Regions from separate parts of the Homo sapiens genome. Here regions 1, 3, 4, 5, 6 and 7 are each linked to region 2. The links are contacts of gene promoters, found by promoter capture Hi-C in blood cells and fetal thymus (Javierre and others, 2016). All regions are on one chromosome and are shown on one strand. The core of a region is centred on a gene start or on the middle of the fragment in contact, and the rest is flanking DNA. Distances in the headings are between cores, read along the strand shown. Region 1 overlaps DTNBP1 (dystrobrevin binding protein 1). Region 2 holds the start of CD83 (CD83 molecule). Region 3 overlaps DTNBP1 (dystrobrevin binding protein 1). Region 4 overlaps JARID2 (jumonji and AT-rich interaction domain containing 2). Region 5 holds the start of JARID2-AS1 (JARID2 antisense RNA 1). Region 6 overlaps JARID2 (jumonji and AT-rich interaction domain containing 2). Region 7 overlaps JARID2 (jumonji and AT-rich interaction domain containing 2).

The links. Contacts are between HindIII fragments. The CHiCAGO score rates a contact against its expected background, and 5 or more counts as called.
Region 1: a contact is called between a fragment that was not itself captured here and the fragment with the promoter of CD83 in region 2, in 1 of 17 cell types (fetal thymus). The highest score is 5.3, in fetal thymus.
Region 3: a contact is called between a fragment that was not itself captured here and the fragment with the promoter of CD83 in region 2, in 1 of 17 cell types (naive B cells). The highest score is 5.7, in naive B cells.
Region 4: a contact is called between a fragment that was not itself captured here and the fragment with the promoter of CD83 in region 2, in 1 of 17 cell types (fetal thymus). The highest score is 8.9, in fetal thymus.
Region 5: a contact is called between a fragment that was not itself captured here and the fragment with the promoter of CD83 in region 2, in 5 of 17 cell types (fetal thymus, total B cells, total CD8 T cells and 2 more). The highest score is 9.3, in fetal thymus.
Region 6: a fragment that was not itself captured here is called in contact with the fragment with the promoter of CD83 in region 2 in 2 of 17 cell types (naive B cells and fetal thymus); the score reaches 5.9 in naive B cells.
Region 7: a fragment that was not itself captured here is called in contact with the fragment with the promoter of CD83 in region 2 in 1 of 17 cell types (naive B cells); the score reaches 5.6 in naive B cells.

Annotation. Positions count from the first base shown.
Region 1 is chr6:15,601,711-15,604,410 of GRCh38, reverse strand. The region is part of intron 6 of DTNBP1 (dystrobrevin binding protein 1); the gene reads left to right. Among named protein-coding and RNA genes, the nearest start is that of DTNBP1-AS1, 57 kb to the right of the region's middle. The HindIII fragment of the contact is 189 bases long and covers 1,258-1,446 here.
Region 2 is chr6:14,116,522-14,119,221 of GRCh38, reverse strand. CD83 (CD83 molecule) reads right to left here and starts at 1,450. Exons shown (of 5, transcript NM_004233.4): 1 at 1,374-1,450; 2 at 1,157-1,272. The coding sequence starts at 1,410. RefSeq lists cis regulatory regions at 153-653, 121-947, 518-1,018, 1,184-1,839, 1,023-1,839 and 1 more and silencers at 1,583-1,702, 1,830-2,124. The HindIII fragment of the contact is 8,136 bases long and covers 1-2,700 here.
Region 3 is chr6:15,657,767-15,660,466 of GRCh38, reverse strand. All of the region lies in intron 1 of DTNBP1 (dystrobrevin binding protein 1), which reads left to right. Among named protein-coding and RNA genes, the nearest start is that of DTNBP1, 3.9 kb to the left of the region's middle. The HindIII fragment of the contact is 1,779 bases long and covers 504-2,282 here.
Region 4 is chr6:15,266,918-15,269,617 of GRCh38, reverse strand. The region is part of intron 1 of JARID2 (jumonji and AT-rich interaction domain containing 2); the gene reads right to left. Among named protein-coding and RNA genes, the nearest start is that of JARID2-AS1, 20 kb to the right of the region's middle. RefSeq lists enhancers at 18-575, 576-1,134, 1,135-1,692, 1,693-2,251. The HindIII fragment of the contact is 168 bases long and covers 1,208-1,375 here.
Region 5 is chr6:15,248,422-15,251,121 of GRCh38, reverse strand. The region is part of intron 1 of JARID2 (jumonji and AT-rich interaction domain containing 2); the gene reads right to left. JARID2-AS1 (JARID2 antisense RNA 1) reads left to right here and starts at 2,426. Exons shown (of 2, transcript NR_120502.1): 1 at 2,426-2,612. RefSeq lists an enhancer at 1,171-2,012 and a silencer at 2,201-2,680. The HindIII fragment of the contact is 915 bases long and covers 892-1,806 here.
Region 6 is chr6:15,419,194-15,421,893 of GRCh38, reverse strand. All of the region lies in intron 3 of JARID2 (jumonji and AT-rich interaction domain containing 2), which reads right to left. Among named protein-coding and RNA genes, the nearest start is that of DTNBP1-AS1, 130 kb to the left of the region's middle. The HindIII fragment of the contact is 2,522 bases long and covers 186-2,700 here.
Region 7 is chr6:15,442,761-15,445,460 of GRCh38, reverse strand. All of the region lies in intron 3 of JARID2 (jumonji and AT-rich interaction domain containing 2), which reads right to left. Among named protein-coding and RNA genes, the nearest start is that of DTNBP1-AS1, 100 kb to the left of the region's middle. RefSeq lists an enhancer at 437-937. The HindIII fragment of the contact is 913 bases long and covers 808-1,720 here.

The sequences.
Region 1 (2,700 bases), core at 103-2,602, 1.5 Mb before region 2:
AGCACCTTCTCTGAAGGAGCCAAGCAGCAGGGCAGTAACTAGCTTCTGCAGTTCTGCAGCAGAAGTCTGTTTGGATGCTGAATGAAAAGGGGAGCAGGAGAACTTTTCCGCAGGCAATGACTTTACAAAAAGGGAGCAGACTTCTGCATCCACCAGGATGGAGTAACAGGGACCAGATTTATTCTCTCCCCCGAAACAATGAAAAACCAGGTGAAATAAATGAGAGAATGTTTTTAAGACACTGGATTTTGGACAAAGAAGAGATGTGATGGTACCCGATAGATAGGAAACAAGTGAGGTGAGCCCTGTGATTGCCTCTGCATCCTGCCTAGAGAGAGTTTCCAGGGTGCACTGCAGGGAAGTGGACCCAGGCAGAGCCTGGCAGACTCAGAGTTGAAGAGCTAAATCTGGGGAGATCAAGGCAGCTGGAGTTTACAGGACATAGTCCCAGAGAGGAGAGAGTTTCTGAGAGGGTCTCCATGAATATTCACCTGATAATACAGGTGAGGAAACTATCCAAGGCAGGAGGGAAAAAAATATCCAAGAGGGTGAGCTAACAGTGCCTGGCACTCACACAGAGCCTCTTCCCAATAGTCGGACTGGGAAAACTCATAATTACTGAGGTATTGGGAAGTGGACTCGGTGAATTCTTGCCTCAGTAGGATGTGTAATTGGCTTTTGTCTGAATACTGCTGAAGACGTGCTTAGCAAATCATAAAGCAAGCATCAGAAGAATCAAGCTGTTTCCAAGTAAATTAACTGTATAACAAACAAAGCTCAAGAGTATTTATAGGAATATAAAAATACCTAGCACCAAACAAGATAAATCACAATGTCTGGTATCTAATCAAAGATTACTAGGAAAACATATGGAGGAAGATAGTCAATCAAAGCCATTAAAAACTGACACAGATATTAGAATTAGAAGACAAGGACAGTAAAAATTGTTATTGTAACTGTATTCTGTTCAAAAAGTGAAGTAGAGACATGGAAAATATAAAAAAGGCTGAAACTTGTATCTCTTTTCTCCATTTTCTCCTTTTACTCCCCCCTCTCCCTATTAGATGCTAGATTTTAGATGGTTCCCAGGTGGTTAATTGAAAGTAAATTGACATTTTTATTTTATTGTATTTATTATAATGTAATCACATTTACTAGGCCAATGACCTCTTGAAAACAGACTGAGAGCTATGAATTTGTTGGCTTCATAAATGTGTAATCACACCTTACATTTTCTTTTAAAATTAAACCTAAGCTTATGAGTTGGCAAGGAATTGAACTTAACAAAATTTTTGCTCTAAAGTGTCTGTTAGAGAATAAATCTTGGCAGTTTCAGACTTTATGTGTAGTCACGAGAACAGATGTAGCTAGAATATTTAACAGTTTATTAGATCCTTGGGTTGACAGTAAATAGAGTTTAGGACTGATATTTAAGTTCATAAAGCTTTATTTTGAACAATGAGTATCTGTTTGCCATTTTTAAATAATAAATGTCTCTCTAACTGGTTTACAAAATTCTTTTCGTTATCTCTTTCCTCCAGTTATGCAAATGACACGCTGGGGTTCAAGCTTTTTGTTTTTAAGAGGCATGAAAACCTAAAGTGTATCTTTGAGGTGGAGAGGAGCAGAGACTAAAGATATAGCAATCTCGAGAAAAGTTTTTTGAAATTAAGCAAAGCAAAATTATTATTATCCTGGGTTGAAAAGTAGGTAATCCTTTTTTCCAAAGTTAGATTGATTATAGTTTGTACATTATAATTTAGAGTCTGTAATAACTTTCAGTGTTTTAGAATTCATTTATTACATTTGGAATAATATTTTATGTTTTTTATGACCCATAGTTGTGTTGGAGTTTATGTTCCATCAGTTACTGTGTTTTTCAAAGATACTTTCAAAAGTATAAAATTTATCAGTTATTTTAGTCTTCAGTTGAATGTAGCTAAAACCATGATATTACCCTATGCTTTTCTCACTTTTCTGGTTTTCTTGACGGATATGAGAGCTGGGACAGGCAGAGGCACACCTGGCAGCCTGCCATACCTGCTCTGACATCGGTGGTAAGCAAGAACCATGGTGAAGTCAGCAACAAGAAAACAGTGCTCCTCCTCTCTGCTGCAGCCCTTCTCTACCCTCTCTGGGCAGTGCTCTAGCATGGCTGTGTTGGCCCCGTTTTTTCTATGGCTAAGAAGCAGGTCTCTTTTTCTTGCCTGCCTTTTACTATTACTAGTCTTTCATTCTGGCTCAGAAAAAAAAATGGCACTATAATTGTTTCAAAGGAATTGAAACAATTGCTACTGGAGATAGTTTTTTGTTTTGTTTTGTTTTGTTTTCAGACAGGGTTTTGGTATATTGCTCAAGAGGTCCTCCTGCCTCAGCCTCCCAAGTAGCTGGGATTACAGGTTTGAATTATTGTGCCCGGCTAATGCTACTGGAGAGGTTTGATACTGGATTTCAAAGAGGGACATTTTCCCCCAAAGATAGCAACATTTTCCTTCCTCTCTGGAAGTTTCATGTTATGTTCTGTTTAGGACCCTTTTTTTTTTTTTCTTTTTCTTTTTTTATTTTGAGATGGAATTTTGCTCTTGTTGTCCAGGCTGGAGTGCAATGGCGTGATCTCAGCTCACCACAACCTCTGCCTCCAGGTCCAAGTGATTCTCCTGCCTCAGCCTCCTGAGAAGCTGGAATTACAGGCATGCGCCA
Region 2 (2,700 bases), core at 201-2,700:
GAAGTGCTGGGCTGAATTCACAGAGCACCTTTGCAATTTATAGGGCAAAAATTAGGTGCCGTGAAGAATACACAGAAGTATGGATACAGCCACTGCCCCCCAGGGAACTGACCATCCAGTTAGGAGACACACACACAAAGAGATCACCGCAATGATGCCTTGTACTGTTAAGTGGCCAAAGACGTACAGTTTCTTATAGTATCTTTTATGGTGGGCAGAAGAACGCCCTGCATTTTGGGGAAAGCTACAAGTGCAGAGATTTGCCCCCGTGGTAAGACAGCAAATCAGTGAGAGCTACAGAGTAAGGTTGTAATATCATATTCATTTGGGTTAAAATGGAGGTGCTGTGGTAGCAGTGGCCTGACTTAAAGAAGGACCAGTGATATCAAACAGTAGCTGCTTGGCTTTGGAATGACACCATCATTGCCATCTTAGAATCTGAGAATGTTTCAGTCAAGAGGAAACCTTGAAAAAGCCTCCTTGTCACTCAGTCCACTTACAGTAGGAGCAGCAAGGCCTGTTCTTACACATGCGGGCTCCGGCTCATGCATCCACCTGATGCTCTCAAGGCTGCCAGAGGAAGGAGGAGGAGGGCTAGGGGAGGAAGCCAAGGGTATCCCACAAAGGAGATGACCACTGATAACTACCATGGATGAAATGGCCTAAGTCACTTCTGTGTCTTAGCCTTTCCTTTCAAATTGCCCCCTCCCCCTCCCATGTATCATGGGCATCACAGTCACAAAACACAAGAAATCAGAAGTCTGGAGACATTCCCCCTGTCCAATGCCCAAATCTAGGTCCCTGTTGCTTTCTTCCTGACCTGCTGGCCCACAACCACAGGTGGCCTCCAGAATTAATCCAAATGAGAGTCTCTGCCCTTCCAAAACATCTTAAGTGGATCATTCATCTCAGGCCACCTTCAGTGACAGGAAGGGGATTGAGGTCTGCGGAGAGCAAAACCTAATTCGGCCCTGTACCTGGATGCGGATGGGGTGGGGGAGGCGCGACGGGAGGCTGGGTACTCCAAGTTCAGCTGCGGGAGACGCCCCTCGCCCCCACCTGGCAGCCACAGAGGGTCGCCAGCCTAGGGGAGATGGTTCCTGCTGTCTTCAAATGAGCCCACCAAACCCCAGCCCGTGGGTATCGCAGCACCTACCTTGACCCAGGAGACCGTGTAGGGAACCTGCGGATCCCAGGGGGCGGTGCAGGGCAAGTCCACATCTTCGGAGCAAGCCACCTTCACCTCCGGCGTCGCGGGAGCCAGGCTGTAGGCTACAAGAAAGAGAGAGCGCGTCGTGAGCAAGCGACCGACGGGAGGGGGTGTCGTGGAGGGGCGGGGGGCGACAGGCGAGACAGGCGCTCGCGAGCCCTACCGCAGCTCAGGAGCAGAAGCTGGAGGCCGCGCGACATGGCTGGAGCGCTGCGCCGCTGCCACGAGCTGCAGAGCTGTGGCGCGCGGGCGCCGGCTGCCCTTTTATGCCCGCGCGTTCGGGAACTTCCCTGCGCGCCAGCCCGGGGGATTCCCCGGCGGGCAGCGGAAGCGGGTGGCGCGCCCTCCTAGTCCCGCTTAGGCCGGGGCGCCCCCGTCCCCGCCCCCTTCGCCCCCGTCCCCGCCCCCGTCCCCGCCCCCGTCGCACCCGCCGCCCTCGCCGCGTGCGCGTCCCCGCCCCCGCGCGCCCGGGCCGGGCGCCCCGAGTTCGCGTCGCTGCTGCGGCTGGCAGCGGCGACAGCAATCCCCGCGTGACGCCCAGCGCTGGGGGCTTTGCAGACCGCGCTCGCGCGCGTGACGCTGCCGTTGACCCGCAAAAGGAAGCCGGGAACCGGGCCATCCGAGCGGGATCTGCCCATTTTACGGAGGCCAAACCAGATTCCGAGAGGGTGGGCAACTTCCTCAGAAGCCCAGCCTGTCCTTGGGAACGCACTGGTGAACCCAAGTCCTCACTCTTCTCCAGAATCTGTGATAATCAAAGGCGCGTTAGATTTCCATGGAAACATACAAGTCTGTAGTACTTGGCTCCCTGCCTTCCCCGGGAGGTTATCAGTCAGTACCGTCCTGTTTAAATTATATCACCAAAGGAGAGTGTCTCCTATTAAAATAATAATTACACGCATACACAACATTTTTGGAAAAGAAAATTCTAGAAGACAATGAAATCACCTGTAATTCATCCAGGAAGTAACTTCAGTTAACATTTTTTTATATTATAAAATGTTTATAACATAACATAACGTAAAATATTTATAACATTTGTCAGTGCACAGATTGGTATTTTTAATGGTTTATTCTTCCTGCTATCTTGTAACCTACTTTCTTTTAGCTTAATAATTTGCAAGCGGTTCCACATCATTAAAAACTTCCAACAGCATCATTTTGGTCCATTGTTCAGTTGCACCATAAATTAGAATCGATTAGTGTTAGACATACAGGTTGTTTCTTTTTGTATTACTAATATTAGAAACAATACTGTGATTGCTATGGGAAACTTCAGTGTAGATAAATCTTTGCTCTAAAATTGCTTATTTTCTTAGAATAAATACCTCAAGGAAATTGTGCTAGGTGAAGGGGAGTTTCCAATTTTGTCAAATATTGCCAAAAAATTACCTGCAAGGAGGTGTCTTCAATCTATATTCCCATCTGCAAAGAGAGTGCCTGTTTGCCAACACAAACTGTTATCCAACCTTTCTATCTTTGTCCATCCA
Region 3 (2,700 bases), core at 144-2,643, 1.5 Mb before region 2:
CTGGTGGAGAAACAACTCATCTCCAAGTGATGTCAGTCTCCCAGTAGACCCGGACCTCTAGTGCCTGATGTTCACTTTCTTCAGGTCCTCAATTTCCTACATTTAAGCTGTTCGGTTAAACTTTTCCATATTCAGCTTGAGATCAACCTCCTTTACATAACTGATTATTTTTGCCTTGAGGAGAAAAGATGACGCTAAACACAGCACACATGTGTTTATTATATGTTGGTAATGTGGAATTCAAAGATGAAAGAGACGTGAGCTGCATCACTAAAAAAGAAACATATTACATAAATGCAATGCTGATATCATAGATAATAAAATTAACACTAATTTTTTGATATTATCAATTATGCAGTCCATAATCAGATTTGTTTTGTGCTTAGAAATGACTTTTTACAGTTGGTTTGTTCAAATCCAGATCAGATAAGTTTCACACATTAAATCTGTTTAAAAACCAATTTTTAAAACAGACGACTGTTAAAGGGCCACATGGGGAAGCTTTATGGAATCTTCCAACAATTTTGTTGTCCCAGCTACTTGGGAGGCTGAGGCAGGAGGATCCCTTGAGCCCAGGAGTTCAAGACTGGGCAACACAAAGAAACCCCATCTTTTGGCTGGGTGCGGTGGCTCACACCTGTAATCCCAGCACTTTGGGAGCCCGAAGCAGGCGGATCATGAGGTCAGGAGTTCAAGACCAGCTTGGCCAACGTGGTGAAACCCCGTCTCCACTAAAAAATACAAAAATTAGCTGGCCATGGTGGCGTGCGTCTGTAATTCCAGCTACTTGGAAGGCTGAGGCAGAAGAATCTCTTGAATCCAGGAGGTGGAGGTTGCAGTGAGCCGAGATCACACCACTGCACTCCAGACTGGGTGACAGAGGGAGACTCCGTCTCAAAAAAAAAAAAAAAGAAAGAAACCCCATCTCTTAAAAAAGAAAGAAAAAATGAAAAAACATGGCCCTGGCCACCCAGAGCTATCACATTGGACCTGGCGTTTCTGTAGAACACTTGGTGGCAGAGCAATTGTGTGGAAGCCAGAGCAGCTGCCTTCTAAAATAATTGGAAACACCGGGTGTGCAGGCTGCCCCAGGGATGGAATGGAAGGCCTCAGGCATTTCTGGGCTCCTTCAGTGCAGCCAGTGCAGCTCCCGCTGTCGCCCAGAGCAGCATCCTCTCTTCGGAGCTTCTGTGATCATTTTCACTTTCTGAAAACTCATATGAAGGCCCTAACTCTAGATAAATTTACTTTTTTTCATTTTTAGTAAAATAGAACGATTCCTTATCAGTCTCAGAATGTCACTTTGGTGATGAAACCATGTCCAATAAGAATAAATTTCTACATTCCATTCAAACTTTGAAAAAGTGCAGCTTAAGACCATTGTTCTTTAAGGGCAGTGTAGAGATTACTGGTGGTTTGGGGGGAGCTCTAGGTTGTCCATGGACTTATGGCCTTTTTTGTAAATTTTTATGCGTAGTAACAATTATGTCAACCTTGAGAAAAACTAGTGATTACATCACATTCTTCCTGCCTTAATTGGGTGGTGGGCCAGCCTTAGGCCACAGACTGAAGAGGATTGGTTCTGAGCTTCACTCAAAGATCTTTTCCCCTCACCTAAAGTGAGTTGTAATTTGATTTAACTGAGTCAGAATTCTTGGAGCCTTTTGGAGAGTTCACATAAAATATCCATTTTTACAGAGATTGGCTTGAGCTCTGGGGAAGACTTTTGGACATACCAAAGTACATACTTCGAAGCCACTCTGGTCTTTGACTTTTACCTTTTGAGCTGTTACGACCAAAGGCCTCAGGATTGAGGTATTTAGGCATGCAAACCCTTCAGGGAACTGAAAATCAGATTTACTGACGGGTTTACAGCTGCCTGTCACAGGCTGGTGTTTCCTATTTGTGATGCACTGGGTTCCTGTGGTTGGGGATAAAAAAACCTGCTATTGTTGCAGCTAGAGGGTGTTTCCCCCTCAAAGCCCTCACTGCCCCTGCCGCCCACCTGCACCCCTGCCCAGTGTCCTCATTCTGTCTTCTTCCGTCCTTGTAGTATCTACCAAAACCTACACAAAGGGGGTTGGAGCCAGTCATCTAAATTACAATGTGGTCAAATGGTGAAGTGTTGCTTGAAATGTTGACTTTTCCGGGATTAATCATCATCTTAAAGAGAAAATAATCTCAGTATTCAACTTGATTTCATAAATATCTACAGAGTTCCTATTAAGTGCCAGTGCCAGACATTAGACTAGGCACTCAAAGTGTCCTTTTTCATAGAAGCTTAAAAAAGATTTGAGAGCCCATATGCTCAGGTTTGCCTAGTCTTTCCTAAACAATGTCTATATATTGGGCCAGATCCTGCAGGTACAAAGGTGTCTAAAACAGTCTCTGTCCACCAGATGCCCTAGACTGGTGCTGATATAAAGCAAAGCAGAATGAACAGAATGTTAAAGATACAAATAGTGTGGTATGTGAGTCCGAAGAAAGAGTCATTAGTTAGGATGCATTTACAGAAGGCTTCAAAGAGGAAGGGGTTTCTAAAACTAGGCCTTGAATAATGAGGAGAAATTGCGATAGATTTGGATAAGCACATTTCAGAGATGGAAGCAGTCCTGGGAGATGAAGCTGGAAAGGAAGTTTAGTGCCTAATAATAGAATATCTTCAATGCTTTGCTTAATTAATTTGTCAAATATTTATTG
Region 4 (2,700 bases), core at 42-2,541, 1.2 Mb before region 2:
GAAACAATGCTAGACCCCATCTCTACCAAAAAAAAAAAAAAAAAATTTTAAAATAGCCATCTCTACAAAAAAAAATTAAAAATTAGCCAAGTGTGGTGTCATGCACCTGTGGTCCCAGCTACTAGGGGGTGGGGCAGGGAAGGCAGGAGGATCTCTTGAGCCCAAGAGTTCAAGGATGCAGTAATAAGCTGTGATCACACCACCACACGCCAGCCTGGGCAACAGACCCTGTCTCTTAAAATAAAATGTAAAAAATGCTGAAGGTTCAAATACTATTGAAAGATTAAAAATCCAACTTTAGGAGGCAGTTATCGAGTCAGAAACTTCTTTCCGCCCCCCCCAACAAGAATGCTCACAGCCCAGTGGCCTGGTCTAGGGACTAAGGGTGGAGCACAGGGAACAGGGCACTCAGATTAGGAGGTTTTACAGAGGCCTGGGAGGAGACAGAAAGCTATTTAACGGTTTTCCTCCTCCCTCAAGAAAGGGGCAACTACCTCACCACTGGCAAGCATTTTGAGGCCACCAAAGACATGATGGTTCAGCACATCTTTTGATAAATTCTAGGACATTCCCCAAGCACACACCAGACAAGTAGGCCTTTAAATTTCCTAACGAGAAACAGGCACTGGCATTTCCTACCTTGCCTGCCATGGGCACACGCACACGCCTGACTTTAAGAGGTTTAACAAAAGAGTTAGAGCCCCGAACTTCCTTGACTTTAATTAAACTTGGCTTCCACTTCTGAAAAATCCTGAAGTTTTTATTTTGTTCTGTAGTCTCACTAATGCTTTTAAATGAGAGATGCTGTGAAAAGGAAAAGCAAATTCTTTGCAGCTGCGTGTGAGCATTCTGCCAACTGAAGCACAGGAAGAAGCTCTCCCATGTTAAAAATTTCCAACTGGGAGATTTACAAAACAGCAGGGGAGGATGGATGGGGCAGAGGGAGACGTGTGCATGTGAAAGAGCTGCAAAAAGCTCCCTTTTTTGTGTTCAAGTCCCAGAGGCCTTCGGAGGCTTGTCATGCTTCAGCGATTGCCACCCCCTCCCATTTTACACCCCTTCCAAAGCCACCGTCCTTTCCATCCAGGCTTTCGGATATAAGTACACATTCTGCAGAACCACTTCTTAGCTGTTCCTTTATTTTACCCCCATCTCCCCAGGCCGCCCCAACACTCATTCTGCCATAACTGGATAATGGAAAGAAGCTTAACAGGGAGGTAGCAACCATTTCCCTCTGACTAAATGAAGTCCTGGCGTTAAGCTGCACTCCTCAGGAGGAAATGACAAGCATTTTGGCAAATGAACTTTTTTGTTTTCTATTAGCAGCAGCAAGATATCCACTGTTGACAACAGCAAAAGTTCACAAAGATAAGCTTCTAGGCTGTGTTTTTAAAGCTCTTCGGAAAATCTAGCTCTACCCTTACGAAAAGCCAATTTGGTCAAAAATGCTGTCAGAAGGGTTTGGAGGTTTGGTTTTAAATTTCCATATTAAGTGATGGGGTTTGGTCTTTTCAGAGAAGGAAAGAGTCACCACACTATCACAATTTCTAGGAAGCAGGCATGCACATTAGGTATGGTGTCCCACTGTCGTCCATCACCTATCCCCTGTTCTGGGGTGTGGGGTTGTCCATACTATTAACCGATCCCCGCCGCAGTTAAGCCTTAGGAGTTGCAACCCCACAGCATCCTCGGGGGCTGCTGATGTACACTTCATGGAACCAACTTTCTTCTTACTAAATCCTCCGCTGAATGCAGTTTTTTCTCAGGGCCCCAAGCAACACAAACACATCCTCAGGAGTGCAGGTAAAATATAAACCCTCTGGGGATCAGCATGCACACCACCCAAAAACCCCCTACTGCATATCTACAGAGGTGCACAGTAACAAAGCACTGGCAGACAGACAGGAAGCACTCCATAAGGTCCTCGGGAACGCAACCATTGAGTTCGCGCGTCACACCGGACTTCTGAAGACAGGACAGCCAAAAAATATCCTTCATAAGGAGTTAATGCCATGGCTTGAAACAGTCAACCAGAAAATTCACTAGAACCAGCTTACTCCATTCCCAGAGCATTCAGAGTCTGTCTACATGTTACTATAATTTGAAACCTGATTCTAAGAACATCCTTGTACCTAGGCCATTTCACAACTGATGCTCTTGCAGAAGGTATCGGTTCCCTCCTGGGCACCTACTGCTGTTTATAACCAGTTGGTTAGGCTTCAGGATCCTTTCCTGGTGGTTGCTGACATGCCTTTTGCTGCCCCTCAAGCAGATCTTTGAGCTATCTCTATGTAGATAAAAGGAAAGGCCTCACTCTGTCTTATGTCAGATACTGATAAGCCGCTTTAAGATTTTCTTTTTCATGGGAGTGGGAGAATAGTTTAGGAGAGTAAGAGAATAACACTCCAGGAAGCCCAGGGTCTCTTTGGACACTGTGTTCAGAGTTTCAGAGTGTTGAATTCACCATCTCTCCCCACAGCCAAAGAAGACAACTTAACTGTTTGCCATCCAGTAAGTTGCAATATGTCAGCATTAACCCAAACCCTCGATCACGCAGCTAGAAGCAATACTAATATACAGGTGGAAGAGAATGCCTACAATGAAAGGGGCACAGTTGTGCCTATTAGAGCACCTAATCTCCACTCAGGGACGCACGTGCACCCCACATTACAATGGAGAACACTGAGAATTTAAACCACG
Region 5 (2,700 bases), core at 100-2,599, 1.1 Mb before region 2:
GAGAATCGATTGAACCCGGAAGACAGTGGTTGCAGTGAGGAACCACTGCGTTCCAGCCTGGGTGGCTGAGCAAGACCCTGTCTCAAAAAAAAAAGGAAACAAAAAAACAAATGCTCTCTAGGTTAGCCTTCACCAAGTGTTTTAACGAACTACGCTTTTAATATGACATTCTCGTGTCTTCTCTGAAAAAAAAAAAAAAGTTCCATTTTGAAGGTAACAGACACCAATTATATACTCCAAAAGATTGTCTTGTTCTGAAGGAGGAAAGTTTAACATTTGGAGTACGGTATATATTAACACTGGAGTTATTTCCAAGGCACTTGGAAGTGCGTCAATAGCCTTCAGCCCAGCAACAGGGACTGGTTTAACCCACTATGAGGAAACAGGCATTACCGAGTACCAAATAATTCTAGTTGTCTATTTGGGCCAGTGGCTACAGGGACACACAAGTTAGGTATTAGCCTACTGTAAAATAATATAACCTGGATAATAAACCAAGTTGGATTACTTGTCGACATAATTTTTCTTTCAAATTTTAGTGACACTTTGGACTTCATTGTGTCTTCCTTCCATACTGTCCCTGTACAGTGATAGGAGCTAAACTGCCACTGCCCTGCACCTAAGTAACACAGAGCAAGATTTTCCACTACTAGAAACAAGTAACTGAAAAGCCACGTAAACATCCCAGGAAAGAAAAAATACAGCAATAAAATAACGTGCAAATTTCCCCACCACCCCACCAACTGTAAAATAACGTGACTGAACAATTTGTGATGAATAAGTTTTAAAACAAAAAACCTCATAAATCCAACCACTGTATATTTTGTGTTCTTCCTACTTTTTTCTTTGTAATTTTACGTAGTTGTAATTATAGTAAATCCTTTTGAAGCTTATAACAAAAACTTTTTCCAATTTTTAAATCATACACTTTCAAATCAGAAAATTAGATACTTAAAACTTACAGCCTAGTGGTACAAATTCTGCTTGAGCTGTCCTAGAAAATCAAACTGGCAATTTGTTTTCATGCTAACTACAGGAATTACTATCTTCATAAGGCAGAGATTCTCTATTTCAAACTGATACCTGATCAAATAGTGGTGAAGCCCCAGTATCCTATCTGTTATTCTCCCTAGGAATAACCAGGCAGTGGAATGATGGAAACGGCAGAAAATATCTCTAGAGCAAAACATGCAACTGTTTTTATTGTCCAAGTCGATTGGGGCTTTCAAAGGCAAATGTTTTCAGTTATTTAAGGTATTGCAGTGGGAGTCGTGCTCAACACAATTAAGACAGGATTACACTGCAACTTATGAGTTTCTCAAGGACATCATTTATTACGAAATATAACAATCATTTCTCCCAAAGCCTACTATCGACAATCGCACCCCCAACTCTGCTTTGCTAAGGTAATAAACTAAATGGCAACTCAGCAGGCATCCCGGGCTTTTGAGACCAATTGTGGGAAACGTGCTGCCTTCCACCAGCTCAAGTAATAATGCCACCTTACTTATAAAGAGGCATACTGTTTTACATCTTCCATGCACATGATCTTTTCAGTGACTTAGTTAAGTGGCAATGGCAGGTATTTTTCCATTTTACAAAAGAGAAAACAGAACGCCAGCCTCTGGTTTCCCTGCTCAGAAGAACTAAGCCCAGAGCACCTTGAGACTTAAAGGAGTCCTGTGCTCTTCTCAGTACATTTATCAATGACAAGTCTTCCTTTGGTCCAGCCCCCCAAAATAACAGTCAGTAGGTACAGAGCCGGCACAGCAAAGGAAAGCCCCCCCACCGTAGTACCACAAAGCTTCCAGAAAGAGCAACAGTTGCTGCTGTGCAGCATCATCATGAAAGGCATCCGGCCACATCCTGCTGAAGCACCCCTAACACGACTTCAAGTGACAAGGTGGCCAAATCCACAACGCGGTCCTCCAACAAAGCACAGCTTTCCCTGAATACTTTCATTTCTTTACATAAGCACTGGAGAGGGGACACATGCACCACGCTAGTAATGCAACACCATCAGGAGACCTGGAACAGAGGAAGTGAAAACATTCCTGCAGAAAGGAGGCGCCTCCTCCCCGCTCCCCGCTTCCCAAGTGGCATCAGAACAGGGTCCAGTGGCACTCCTTTGGGGACCTACGGCTCCCCGGCCCTCACCTGGTGGGAAGCGCGACGCTCCGGAGCGGAAGGCAGAGGCCGAGCGCATCTTCCTCCTCTTCCTCCTCCCACGCCGCAGCCCGGCTCTGCGGCAGCCCCCGCCCCCGCCCAGCTCCCTCCTCCCCCCGCCGCCCCGCCGCGCCTGGAGCCTCCCGCCCGACTTTTGACGTCACGGAGGAGGAGGGGAAGGTTCCACCCGAGCCCGTCCCTTTGTGACGTCACAATGACAACAGAGTGCGGCCGGGAGCGTCGGGGAACCGAGCGCCGCGGGGGGCGGAGGGAGGGAAGAAGGGCTGGGGCGCCGGCGCGCGGCGGGGGAAGAACCGGGGGGCGGAGAGGGGGCGCGCTGACGTCTCGCCGGCTTAACCTGTTGCTCTCGAGACTGCGTCGGAGCCCGCAGGCAGGGCCGCGGGAAGCCGGCCGGGCCGCCGCCGCCATGCTCGGCCGTGTGCGCGGTGGGGGGCGCCCGCTGCAGCTGTGCGCCGCGCGCCCCCTCCCCGGCACGCCCACGCCCCCGCCCCCGCTCCCACCCCCTCCCCGCGC
Region 6 (2,700 bases), core at 197-2,696, 1.3 Mb before region 2:
CCCCTCAGCACAGTTGTGGACCAGGCCAGACCCCAGTTCAAACTGCACCCCCACCCCCAGTACAGCTCACCAAGCCAACTGCTGTCCAGATGCACACACCTGAAAATTCAGACCTACATTTGCTACAACTTATGGAAGGTGACATGGTACAGTGGCAAAGTCCAGGCATTATAGATGTGAAAGCTTAGATCCAAATCCTATTAACTCAGCTGCCAAGTGAGGGTGGTAAAACCTTAAAAACAGGTATTTCAAAAGAATTAAGGTAAAAATTTTTAGCACAATATTATCTAGGCTAAGGTCAGTTCTTCCTAACGGAAGAGACAGATTACATAGCTTCAAAGAAGGACTTCTAATAGTCACAGGCTTTATTATGGAATGGAGTTTACTATTTTTATTATAGGCCGAATGCTTATGTTTATTAATTTTGAATTTTTTTTCTTGGAGTCAGGGCTTACTTACGCTGTTCACCTTTTTTTTTTTTTAAAGACTAACAAAACTAAATGAAAAGCTATGACCGTGGCTAGTTCCATTTCCTGATGGTACGTGTCTCTCTCACACTCTCATTCAACATTCAAAGAACAGAAAGAACTTCCGCTTTTAGTGAAGCTAGACAGGATTTATACCTCTTGCCTGTCTGAAAGAACTAAAAATCCACACAAAACAACGGCCACCATATAGCAACATACTGTGATCCCTGACGGATGGAAAACAAATGATCCCTCCAGCTCACTGCCCTGAGAGAATGTCCAGGCTGCAGCAGTTACGGAAAGGGCAAGCAGAGCCGGGGTTGAGAAACACAAGGGGAGGCCAAGGTGATATAATGTGTAAGGCAGAGCACAGCAGAGGCCAGAGCCACACAGACAACAATGGAATCTGCCAAAGGCGCTCCTCATGTCTTCCGCTGAGTACTAACAAGCACATTTGTGTTAGGAAGCTACCCAAGAGAAAGTATTTCCAGAAAGGATTAGCAGGAACAGTATCCAAATTGTAAAAGCACCAGGAATAGTGCCCATTCTTACTAGCCTACATGGTAAACATAATCCATAGGACATCAAGTAAAATACTCGTAAGGGTTTTTGCCTGAGTAGCAGGGAAACAATGCCTCACAGTAAACACTGCTTTGGCCCTACCTAACCATGCTTGAAACCAAGATCCAAACAGATCAAACTGTTCCCTAATAATCAGATCTCAGAACAATGCTCAAGAATATGTAGAGAAATACGAACATTTCCCACAGCCAGAGAAAAATTTAGTGTCTGTCAAGTAATAAAAAGCTACCAGACATGCAAAGATGCAGGAAAATATGACTGATGAGGAGGAAGATTAATCAATCAAAACTGTTTTGTAAATAATGGAAGACAAAAATAGCACATATACTCAAATATCTCTTGTAACTGTACTCCACATGTTCAAGAAACACCAAAGAATAAGCATATTACTAGAGACACTGAAGATTATGGAAAGACCAAAATCTAACTTCTTTTTTTTTTTTTTATGGAGTCTTGCTCTGTCACCCAGGCTGTAGTGCAGTGGTGTGATCTTGGCTCACTGCAACCTCCGCCTCCTGGGTTCAAGCAATTCTCCTGCCTCAGCCTCCTGAGTAGCTGGGATTACAGATGCGCACCACCACGCCCAGCTAATTTTTGTATTTTTAGTAGAGACAGGGTTTCACCATGTTGGCCAGGAAGGTCTTGAACTCCTGACCTGGTGATCCACCCGCCTCGGCCTCCCGAAGTGCTAGGATTACAGGCGTGCCCAGCTGTAACTTCTAAAATATAATAACAATGTCTGAGATAAAAGATATATTCAATAGTCTTACCAGCAGATTTAGGGTATAAACTATCTAAAATGCAACATACAGATCAAAAAAGGAACAAAACACATGAGCTATGGGACAACTTCAGAGTAATATATATGAAAATTAGGTCCCCAAAGGGGAGACGAATGCACACGAAAATATTTGAAATAATAATGGCTCTAATTTTTCCATAGTAAATGAAATCTACAAACCTAATACACTCAATGAATCTCAAACTCTGGAAATAAAAACTGCCAAGGCACATCGTATCAAATTGCCTAAAACCAGTAAGGGATTCAAAAGAAAATTGTGGTAAATGATTGCTCCTACAAAGCTATGAAAATAACAACAGGATTCTCATCAGAAATGATGCACATCGGGACAGTGGGGCAGTGTCACTGAAGTACTGATGGTGAATGACTATTAACCTAAAATTTTATACCCAGCAAAAATATCTATAAGAAATGAAGGTGTATTTTGTATAACTGCATGTAATTCTACAATTATCATAAAAGTATTTTTTTAATGTGGGTGAAATGAGATCTTCCCAGACATACAAAAGCTGAATGATCAACAGCAGACCTAATGTTAGAAATGTTAAAATCCTTCAAGCAAAAGCAAATGCAAATGATACTAGAAACAAAAATGGCAACTACGTAGATAACTTGAAACAGAAGATAGGCGAGATTTACCCATATTTACTTTATATTTACTTCCACATCTTTTGTGTTCAAAACTGCCACATCATAATCTATTACTCAATTTTTCTTTACTTTCTGTAGTAGAGAGTACATTTCACCCATGATAACTCTAAAGTTGAAAATTAAACTAGTACTTCTCTTATTTATAAAATATATCTCCAGGTTGTAAGAACAAAATAAACTCCAAATAACCTGATCAGT
Region 7 (2,700 bases), core at 15-2,514, 1.3 Mb before region 2:
TGTTAGGTATCACCGCTTAAAAATTTACCAAAATCAATCTTCATTGTTTGTTGTTAAAATAAAATATATAGCACCTTTATGAGAACGAAGGAGCACAGCAAGATACACACTAACATTATTTGGAAAGTTAACCAATAAATCACGAGACCATGCTTGTAAAGAAACCCCAGGGATGAACTAACAGTCCTATGCCAAATACTTTTTTCTTTTGTAATACCCTCCCTGTGCCCCTTCCTCCCCAAATGATTGATTTAGAAGCTTCCTGGGCATCCTGCCATTAGAAGCTTCACACAAGGGTGGCACTGTTTCTCCAGGTTTCCTCTGGGGTCATCAACAGTGTAGAGTTAACCAGCTTATTGCTATCTGTGCACTCAATCTCTAGGGTAGCCCTGACTGCGGCACAACAGCAATTTCCAGGTTAATTAAATCCTATTTCTGTCCAGGATTTCTGATAGCCTGCAAACCCAAGAAGGGCATGGCGTGACACACAAATCAGCTGGATCAAGCAGGAGCAAGGGGGACCAGGCGGCTTAAAGTGAATGCACAGCTGTTCCCTTGCTGAGGGAAGTACATGCCAAAACATCATTTTATTAACTCAATTTTCCAATATTAAAAACGTAAGCTGGTAAATCCAATTATTTAGATTACATCCCAATTCTAAACAAAGGGCAAGGAAAGGGTGGGAGGGAGGGTCTGTTCATTCAAAAAAAAAAAAAAAAAAAAAATCAGACAGTTCGTGTCTGGCAAATGCAAAATGACCGGCATGGCTGCGCTCTTTGTGCCGGTGTGGGAGCTGGCCCTGAAGCTTTGCCAACTTGCTGAAAGGCCTATTCAAAAAAAAAAAAAATTTCCTGTGTTTCCATCCCCAAAATAATTACCCACTCCATTCGCCCCCCAGACACACACACTACAAACCTGGCAGCCACTCAAAGAAACAAGAGTGTGCCCGTGTGTGTGCGCACTGGAGGTTGTGGGGGGTCGGGCAAGGGATACCCTCTACCCAGGGCAAGCTGCCCACCAAATTCAAATGCAAGTGCGGTTGCGAGCAAACCACACAGAATGGTTGTAAACATCCTGAACAGTAAAGAGAAAATAAACACATCCTCAAGTGAACCCAGAGGCTAGCAGAGACCAATTCATAGCAAACTCTGTAATGAGAGGCACTAGCATAGACCATATCCTTCTAAGCGCAAGGTCCACCCAGTTCCCACAGTTTTAAACGGTCAGGGTTTGATTTACCAGAATGGGAGGGCATCACACAATGACAAAACGGGAGGTCAGCTGGCTCTGTAAGCAGAGTTATCCTACGCAGAATGCCTGCTTTATGGTACTTCTGGAGATGGAGCCCTAGTGGTCCACAGCCTCATTTCTTGCTTTACACATAAACTGATGGAACACTTTGTTTATGCAAAAAACCGCAGGATATTAAATATTTGCAGCACTTGTCTTAATTAAGTTACATAGGAAGCTATTTAGAATAAACATTTGCCATAGCCGGAATTTGCGTAAAGAAATCTTTTGTTAGTTGAATTCCCCTCAAGATGAAACATTATGATGTTTTGCTTGGTCAGTGGTACAAGCAAAAGAGTAGTGGTGTCACAAAACCTGAGTTTAGTTCACCTAACTTGTCACCTAGGGCAAGCTGGGTCTTTTTTTCTTAGGTGGTTTTTTTAAGGACTATTTTAAAAAGGGAAGCTAAGGCTCTCTCTAGCTCCAAGCTTCTGTGATCTTTGACCTCCTCTTAAAAAAACAAGTGGTACCTGAATGTAGTAATTTCTGTAATAAATCTTTTGGATCTATCATTTCGTAAGAGTAGATGAAAAGTCCTGATTATTTTGGAGAAGTAAAATCTAAATCTCCAAACTGTCAGTATTGCTAAAGATTTCTAGCGCCAACTTTCTAACTGCCAGTAAAACAGCAAAATATACTGACTTTTAAAGTGCTAGTACTACCACCTAGCACTTTAGAAGGTGGAGGGGAAGGTGAAAAATTCATTCATATATATTTTAGAAAGATATCACAATTCCAAAAATCCACTCCCCTACTCCCTTAAAGATTAAATAGTAGCAATACAATCTGTAATCTGCATTTCCTTCCACTTAGCCCTTCCAATGAGGAGTAACTCATTTAGGCAACACGTTAACTTACTTCAGAACTGTGAGTCACCCTTAGGAACGCTGACATAACTACTTAAAAATATATTCATCAGCTCTATCCATGAAGAAGCCAGCCCAAGGACAAGGCAAGCCTTGCAAATCCAAACATCACCACCACATCAGGAAGACACCATTCTTGCTCGCAGACACTTCACTCCCTTGGAATACTAAAGTGGAAAACAGGCATCAGAGAGAAAGGTGAATCTTTTTTTTTTTTAATTCCAGGGAAGGATTAGGGGGGTAGGAAAGAGGAGGAAAAAAATTAAAAAATCGAAGATAATAGCACTAAATATCTACAAGATATGAACTTTTTCCCAAATAAAACATGACTTGGTGCATATAAATCTCAGGTAGCTGGTGACATCCTGCACAAACAGTATGAAAAGTAATATGCAGTACAGTTTTTTATTCAATTAATAAAATTATTCAATTATGTTTCTTGAAATCTTCTATGGCATCCTGAAATGTCAGAGAACCAAGACTGCCTGAAAATCATGACTGTCATGATCAAGGAAACATCTGACATTGACTTCTTTTGTGTTCT